Linked DNA regions of Homo sapiens: all the other regions are linked to region 3. The links are contacts of gene promoters, found by promoter capture Hi-C in blood cells and fetal thymus (Javierre and others, 2016). All regions are on one chromosome and are shown on one strand. Each heading gives the region's core, a stretch centred on a gene start or on the middle of the fragment in contact. The rest is flanking DNA. Distances are from core to core; before and after follow the strand shown. Region 1 has its middle 140 kb from the start of LINC02855. Region 2 has its middle 120 kb from the start of LINC02855. Region 3 holds the start of HAS2 (hyaluronan synthase 2).

Region 1 (2,788 bases), core at 236-2,735, 200 kb before region 3:
GAAAAAAAAATCAGAAAAAAAATTAGTATATTATTTACAAGAAGAAAAAATACATACATGTTATACTATGATTTCTTTAGCTTACCTTTATTTTTTCAAGCTTTATATGCTACTTTGTACAACCTGGAGAAATCTTGAAACAGAATATTTTTGACATTAGCCAAAACCTCAACTGAAATCCCTTCTGGACTCTGTTAAGTACCTTTTCTAGGTGATTATCAGCTCAGAAACATTGGTCCCTCTTCTCTTCCACTTAGGTTCCACTTAACAGCAGGAGCCATGGGGCTGCCCTTCACTTTATCTCAGTGAGAGAAGTGAGAAGGTAAAGGTCATTGTCTGAAAGTCAATTGTTTGGTAGCAACTAACCATATTAATTTATTCCTTCTGAAAGATATTTGTGGGGAAGGTGATTTGATTCAGTATGATTTCTCTCTCCAGAGATGGCTCTGGGATCCAGAATAGCATGCTCATTCACCCTATTTTGTCCATCCCCAAGACCCCGCCTTAAAATGGGAGAAAATTGTGAGTTGGATATCAGATTTCCTAGAAAAAAAAATGGAACTTGAAGAATGCACCTTAATATCCCCAGTAGATCCTTTTAAGGCCATTGACTTGGTCTACATCAGAGTCAAATGACAGCCAGGTTACTGTATTGGCACCACTTCAAGGAAAGGCCATGAAACCAATACATTTAGGAGTCTTTTTCATGTCCTAAATCATCAGGTTTCAACATAGGCTTAAAAACCAGACCTACACAATCAGAATCATTGAGAATGAACTCCAGAGTTTGTATTTTTAACAAAAATAGGTAAATCTGCTAAGCATCCATATCTGGAAACCTCTGGCATAAAGGACATGCCCAGGACTCTGTCTTCATGTTGGCCATTGGCAGCTCTCTAGAAAAATGACTTGAGTAGGGCTCAGAAGACTTAGATTCTACTACTGCCACCATAACATTTTTATCTGAATTGTATTTGGAATAGTTAGGAAACATTGGATGTTATTGTTGGAAACAAACCAAGAAATCCATTTGGCATGTAACAGAGGAGTAGATTTAGACCTAAACAGCATGAATGCCCATAACAATGAATTCATTTCAAAGGTGAAACTAGGGCCAAGTTTTACTGAGACCACCAAGTTTCTCTCTCTAAAATGGTAACACCTAGATTAACTTCAGTTTCTTTATCTCTAAAATAATGATGTCATACTTTTTCAGCCACCTCCACAGATTGGTTATAAGGACTGTATGAGAGAATCGATATGAAAAGCTATGAAAACTTCAATATGGAAGACAGATATGTATTATCTATATATGATGAGAACATGGGTGGTTGAACTTTGGGAACTGTCAGTACAATCATGGGCACCTCATAGCTGGATGGTCAGGAGTTATTGTAAATGGCAAGGAGGGTGGTTCCATTTCTATGTGAGCAGAGGACACTGAATCTGTGATTTGAAATGAGTTAAGTTGATACTTCAGTATCCAACTATGTGGCATTACAGAATCACTGAAGATGGCAGAAAGCACAAGGAGGAAAGGCTGATGACATCATTTAGAGGTCCAAAAACAAAAATTGTGTGAATCCACTCATAACACTCACATCATCACTCACATTTCCAACTTAATTTAGATAACAGCTCTGGCAATTCCATTTTCATCAAAGTATATGCTGATTTACTTTATTCTCACCACTTCTTATGTAAGTGCTTATTTAAGACTAGAAAATTTCTTTGTAAAAACATTGCTAATAGGAGAAAATGTTGAAAATGTTTCAATTTTTATTTGCACTGGGCCATTGCATGTCCCCAGACTATCATTACACAAAGTCACAGAGGGCTGATATGATTTAAATGTTAAGATTTGAAGACATGGCTGGGAGTTACATGAGGCCTCTATTCATCTTCTGGTTCACCAAACATTTACTAAGCCTAAATTATGTCAACACTGCTCTAGTGTATACAGCATAAAACTCCCATAAATGGGAGAGCCCAAATCCTGCTCCCATTAATGGCTGGCAGAGGTATAGCTATGAAGACTCTCATAAGTATATATTTTTAAAGCAGTTGCTATTTATTGAGAGCCTACTATACGACTGGAACTGTATTAGGAAATATACATATATCCTCAAGGCAATAATATTAAGTCTCTGTTTTTTATTCTAATTTTATGATGAAGAAAATGAGCAATAAACAGGTTGATTACCTTGCCTAAAGCCAACAACTGGTGAATGGTGAATACTGGATTCAAACCAAAATTGTTTGATTCTGAAGACCACTGGGGCCCTAACAAATCTTCTTTTGTTGTTTAACTAAATGTTTAATCAACTACATACAAGAAAATCATCATTTACACTGTTTAGTTTTGTTTGTTTGTTTGTTTGTTTGAGATGGAGTCTCGCACTGTTGCCTGGGCTGGAGTGCAGTGGTGTGATCTCAGCTCACTGCAACCTCCACCTCCCAGGTTCAAGCAATTCTCCTGCCTCAGCCTCCCGAGTAGCTGGGATTACAGGCACCCGCCACCACACCCAGATAATTTTTTGTATTTTTAGTAGAGAGGGGGTTTCACTATGTTGGCCAGGCTGGTCTTGAATGACTGACCTCATGATCCACCCACCTCAGCCTCCCAAAGTGCTGGGATTACAGGCATGGGCCACCGCGCCCAGCTAATACTAATTAGTTTTCATAACAACCCTATGAGCATGAAAGGTTGACTTTTGGGGGGTTACAGGATATAACTTCACCTAAATATAAGGCAAGAACATAAAATGAGTTTTCCAAGAAAGCCAGT
Region 2 (2,825 bases), core at 235-2,734, 180 kb before region 3:
GGTGGGTAAAATGTGCTCCAAAGAGGAAGCGAATGATAGGGAACAGACGTTTCCAAAGCATTCGATACTTGGTGAGGACTAAGCTCTGATTTTTTATATCTTGGCCAAATTCCTATCTAAGGGGTTTGGAGAGTCATGCCCTACAAACCATAAATTCTCATCTGATGGGTTTTATTTAACCCTGTATATTGGGACTTACTTTCCAATCTGACTCTGGCATAACAAGGAAGAAAATCAGAATATTTTACCCCAAAACATTTTTCTCTGCCACATCTTGAAATGGGCCTGCAAAGCCATCCTTTGTGGGGGACAATCTGCATCTGTAAAGAATCTCTATTAACATAGCTAGATCTTTTTCTTCCAGGCCCGCCCTATCCTGAAGAGATTAACTAAAAGTCTAGCACCTTTCAAAGATCTGAATAGGAAATATTTGTCATCTATTGTCTCCAAGGGCAGCCACTATAAGACTTCAAAAGAACCTTGGTCTCCACAATCATTTATCTTAACCTGAACATTTCCTTTCTGTCATCCCAGGTCTTTAGACAAACTCAACCAACTGCTAACCAGAAAATGTTTAAATTTACCTATAACCTGGAAGCCCCTGCTCCCCTATTTCTTAAATGTATTTGATTGACATCTCATGCCTCCCTGAAATATATAAAATCAAGCTGTACCCCGACCACCTTGGCACTCATATCTGGCTCAGAATAAATTTCTAAAAATATGTTACAGATTTGACTCTTTTTGTCAACATTGGTCATAACTTGAGAAGCTTCTCGACGTTTTGTCTGTGAGGAAAAGGAGCTGTCATCAGTCTTAGAAGAAAAAAGTCTGTCTGCACTCCTTGACAGTCATAACCTCTTGAGGAAATCCCCATCAAATCAAGAATACTATAAAAGACAACTGGAATTTCCCATCTCCTTTGGTATTATTTACATATCTGAGAAATCTTTGGAACTCAGTAGCTGAGGTTTCCTGAGTTTCAAGATATGAACACATTTCGGTTGTTATTTCCTAGAAATTTATATTTCTCTGAGACATAGCGTACTTTCTTCATTTCCGGGTCCCGGGTTGGTGGTTGCCTGGTGATTTTAGGGCATCATTAAAAACACATGAAGTAGCACTGGTGATTTTCTTATCTATGTTGCAAGAACTTCACTTGCTTTTTTAAGGAGGAAGGAGTTCTCTAAGTGAAGGCCTAGATCCAAAAGTGATACCCAAAGTAAAATCTTGGAAATAACCCAAGGTGGATATAAACATCCTTTGCAGATAAAAATGTCTAGTGCAAGTGACAAAACTTTTCTTGGCAGCCCTGTTTCATGTTCATCCCATAGTACAATTGCTTGTAAATTAGTGTGACCCTATTCAATTAATCTTTCTCAGTACAGATGATGAAGCCATGCACCATATTGTAACGATACATAATATATCATAGAGGTCCCTTTTTTTGGATCCAAAACAATAAAGAATTTTAAAAGTCTGTCAATGGCTTTATTTCTCTGGAATATATAGCCATTCTTATTTTTAATTTTTTCCAACAGATCTGAGGGCTTTGACATAAAAGTGAGGTTTCCAAAAACAGAGACTTGTCTTCAAATCATAAAAGATCTATTTCTTACTCTAGGACTAGACATATGGTAGCAGGATTGAAGAGGACTCATGTGCCTGCTTTTATATTTTTCATTTCTTACCTCTTTTCACTATTTCTTTATCTCACCACAGACTATGCCTATAATGCAGATACTGACTTGAGCCCTTTAAGAAAGAAAGATTTTATGCCGAATGTTGTCCAGTTAATGGACAATTACTCATTTTTTTATAGCAACACTGGACTAAAATCAGAACCATACTAAGCATCAGTAGAAAACTCTCCCATTTTTAAATCTATCAATTCTTTTAGTTGCCATGATTTCCTCTCCTTCTAATTCATACTTTCCTTCCTTGTCTGGAAACATACTGTATTAGTTTCCTACTGCTGCTATTTTAAACAATCCACTGATTTGTGCTTAAAACAATACAAATTTATTTCACAGTTCTTTAGATCATAAATCCAGATTTGTTCTATGGTTTCTCTCTTCTAGGTTTCACAAGACTAAAATCAAGGTGTCAGTCTGCCCAACCCCTATTAGTGAGATCCTAATCAATTAATCCTTCTCAGTACAGGGGAGATCTGGGAAGAATCTGCTTCTAAGCTTATTCAGGCAGAATCCAGTTCCTTGCAGTTGTAGGGTTAAACTCATCATTTCCATGTGTGCTGTTAGCTGGAGAGCATCTTATCTCCTAGAGGTTTATCCTCAGTCCTTGTAGGTGGGCATCTCACAGCCAGCAACGGTGCCTCTAATCCGTCTCACACTTAAAATCTCTCCAGCTTCCTCTTCTGTTACATCTCTTTTGCCTTTGTCTTCTGCTGCCTTTCTGACTCAGAGAAATTTCTCTGCTCTTAAAGTTCATATGATTAGATTGGGCCACTTGGATAAGCCAGGATAACCTCCCTCTGTTAAGGTTCATAACCTTAATTACATCTGCAAATTCCCCTTTGCCATGTAATGTAAGATACTGACAGTTTCTAGAGACTGAGGCATAGACATATTTTTGTGTTTGTTTGGTGGATAGACATTATTCTATCTACCATACATATTAAGTTTGGAGTTCTATGCATCTAATTCCTTTTTTAAATCGTGGATTAAGGAGGCAAAATTAAATCTGGATGCTAAGAATCCAGAGAACAGCTAGTATTTAGAGCATGGTTTTCCTCTAAACAAAGAGACAAAGCCAGAAAATGAGTGGAGGAAAATTAGGCAGATACTCGGGGTTATGGTTTAGGC
Region 3 (2,936 bases), core at 136-2,635:
ACTTTGCAGGTCAGCCCCTGGGGACTGGGATGGCTGACTACCTGGTATTGCACTAAAATGCTTGACCCCTAATCACATCCCCCAACACTACACCTTGTGCGACGTGATGAAAGCATCATTTCCAGTTTATTCGACTTTTCTGTTTAGACTTATTCATTATAGCCCATATATGTGATAAGGACTAAGAACCCAGTCTTCAAGGTCCTGTCGAGTTCCAAAGAAGTCCACCCCTCAGAAGATCCTTGGAAGGGGAAGAAGGAAAAAAGAAAGAAAGAAAAATCTGTTTTACCCTATAACAATTTCAGCGCAATCTCCCAAGACCAAGTTGGTTAATTTGTAAAGTCACTCTCATTTTTTCCTCAACAGTGCCACCTACTGTCCATTTTCAGTCATCAGCAGGCTTGTTGGCAAGGTCCAAGAGAAAGAAAGGAGGCGGAGTGGTGGGGGGAGGAGTAACCAAAAAACGAACTCTACCCAGCCTTGGGGCATTGTGAAAACGACGAGGAAAGGCCATCTCCAAGCAAGACATATTTGTCCTCGTCAACTTTGCAGAAGGCTTGCAAAAAGCAAAAGCCAGTTAAGCCATTTCCTTCAAGATGGCTAAATATAAGTCCTCCAGAAAACAATTTTTATTATTTTATTTTTAATGCGCGCTGTTTGAGTATGTTTACGTTAGGGGACCAGATTGAGCAAAAATATACATATAATTACTTTTCTATGTTTTCCGCCCACCCACGGCAGAAACCTCTTTATGAGAAAGGCTTTGACACTTGACGTCAGCTCAGAAACTTTTGAGTTGGCGGGAAGAAAGGGTTAACAAGTGGTGGACCAGCGCGATCTTTTTAGAGTCCCAGCCGGCTGTCGAAGGCTCCAGGTACACACACACACGCACACACTTACACACACACACACACACGTGCACACACCCCTCCCAACTGTTCCTCCTTGGGTCGGTTACTTAGCTGAAGGGCACCATTTGGCTTTAAAACAAATTACTTCAGCGCCACAGGGAGTTTATCGCTTGGAGGGAACTTGTAACGCGGGAGTTCAGGGAAATCCAAGAGGCGAGGGCTCCCACCTCCGCCGCCAGAGGAAAGTAAGGAATCAGGTGGTGGCCCCCTATGTGTCTTGCATTTCTCTGCACACGTTAGCAATCAAGTTAATTGAATTCATTGGAGTTTAGAACCGGCCTGTAGCTCAGAGAAGGCTTTGAATGGCCAATTTCTCTCTCTCCCTCTCCCCCTCCCCGCCTCCCGCTCGCCCGCCCGCCCGCGCTCCCAGTTCCCTCCCCTCAGGGTTCCCCAGTCCACACCTCCCTCTCCACTTCCCTCACCCCCCCACTCCCTCCGCCGCCCTATTAAAACACCCACCAGCTCACTTGTTAAGACCCCCTTAAGTTGGAGGAGGCAGAAGGGCAACAACGGCGGGGAAGGAGAAGTCAAGACGTCTGGAAAGAATTACCCAGTCCTGGCTTCGAGCAGCCCATTGAACCAGAGACTTGAAACAGCCCCAGCCAAAGACTTTTCTCCCAATTCTGCGCTTCCTGGGTTCTGCTGAGTCTTCCACAGGCTTTTTTTTTTTTTTTTTTTTTTTTTAAGACGAAAAAGAGATTTTCTGTTATCGGGGGCAGAAAGACTGAAGCCCAAAAAAAAAAAAAAAAAAAAAAGAAAAGAAAAGAAAAAAGAAAAGTTAATTTATTTTTAAAGCATAATTTTTTTAAGAATTAGACTGAAGTGCAACGGAAACATAAAGAGAATATTAGTGAAATTATTTTTTAAAGTGGGGAAGAATCAAACATTTAAGACTCCCCTATCCTTTTTAAATGTTGTTTTTAAATTTCTTATTTTTTTTGGCCGGTCGTCTCAAATTCATCTGATCTCTTATTACCTCAATTTTGGAAACTGCCCGCCACCGACCCTCCGGGACCACACAGACAGGCTGAGGACGACTTTATGACCAAGAGCTGAACAAGGTACGTTACACTGGCGCGTTTTGGTGAAGGATGAAGGTCCTCCAACAGGCCAGGGAGAAGGAAGACATCCTTATAATTGTTTTAAAATTTTTAAGCCAGTTTCGATAGAAAAGTTGGAAGTTTAAAAATTTCCAACAGACTGAAGATCAGGGAATATTTCAGGTCACTGTCAGGCTTAGCAACATAGCCCTCTTTTCCCATTTCTGCGGCTCTCGCCAGAAATCCGCTGCCTTTCTGGGGACACAGGTAGCCTCTCTGCCTGGGAAAGGCTGCACGTCCTCAGATGTACTTTTCCATTTTGCATCTTCCGGAGCAGCAGAGGGGCTCCAGAGTTAGGAAACAAGAATTCCCAATGTAAGGAAAATGCATTCTGCACAGCCGCCCCACCCCTTCCCTTCTTTTTTTCCCACACACACACACACACACACACACTGTGGGGAGAAAAACTGGAATAGCCCAGCGCGTTTTACTTCTAAGTGAAAAAGTCGCTTCTTGCTGGGAATGCAAAGGGTTAAGCAATCTGGGCTTCCAGCTCCGACAAGCTGGGACCCTGGAGAAGGAGGGTCCTTCTCTACCTCCTCGCAGCTACCATCCCCTCTCGGCCACTCCCCCCTTTCCCGGGCCTCCCCTCCTTTGCACTTCCCGCACCCCATTAAAGTGTCAGGCTCGTCAGTCTGGGCTTACTCGGGCCAGGGGTCCCTGACGCAGGCGGTGGCACCCGCAGATAGGAGCGGGAGGAGGGCGCGCATCCCTCCTCTCCTCGCCGGGCCAGCCCGCCGGCCGCCCGGAGGCAGGGCGTGCGTGGGGACCGCGCGCTGCGCTTCGGCAGCTGCGGCGTCCCCAGAGCCAATTCCGACGTGGCACCGCGCACGCCGGCGCTTCTCTCCTCAGCTGCAGCTGGGGACACTGCCCGGTGGGAGATCTGGGGGCGCCGTCTCGAGCGCCCAGCCGATGAACGGGGCGA

The links. The method cuts DNA at HindIII sites, captures the fragments that hold promoters and counts their contacts. A CHiCAGO score of 5 or more calls a contact.
Region 1: a fragment that was not itself captured here is called in contact with the fragment with the promoter of HAS2 in region 3 in 3 of 17 cell types (non-activated CD4 T cells, activated CD4 T cells and naive CD8 T cells); the score reaches 7.0 in non-activated CD4 T cells.
Region 2: a contact is called between a fragment that was not itself captured here and the fragment with the promoter of HAS2 in region 3, in 2 of 17 cell types (non-activated CD4 T cells and total CD8 T cells). The highest score is 6.3, in non-activated CD4 T cells.

What each region holds. Positions count from the first base shown.
Region 1 is chr8:121,837,283-121,840,070 of GRCh38, reverse strand. No RefSeq gene overlaps it. Among named protein-coding and RNA genes, the nearest start is that of LINC02855, 140 kb to the right of the region's middle. The HindIII fragment of the contact is 2,765 bases long and covers 103-2,788 here.
Region 2 is chr8:121,821,027-121,823,851 of GRCh38, reverse strand. No RefSeq gene overlaps it. Among named protein-coding and RNA genes, the nearest start is that of LINC02855, 120 kb to the right of the region's middle. RefSeq lists an enhancer at 1-696. The HindIII fragment of the contact is 1,420 bases long and covers 775-2,194 here.
Region 3 is chr8:121,639,889-121,642,824 of GRCh38, reverse strand. It overlaps HAS2 (hyaluronan synthase 2), which reads left to right and starts at 1,385. Exons shown (of 4, transcript NM_005328.3): 1 at 1,385-1,972. It also overlaps HAS2-AS1. RefSeq lists enhancers at 103-726, 2,928-2,936. The HindIII fragment of the contact is 9,649 bases long and covers 1-2,936 here.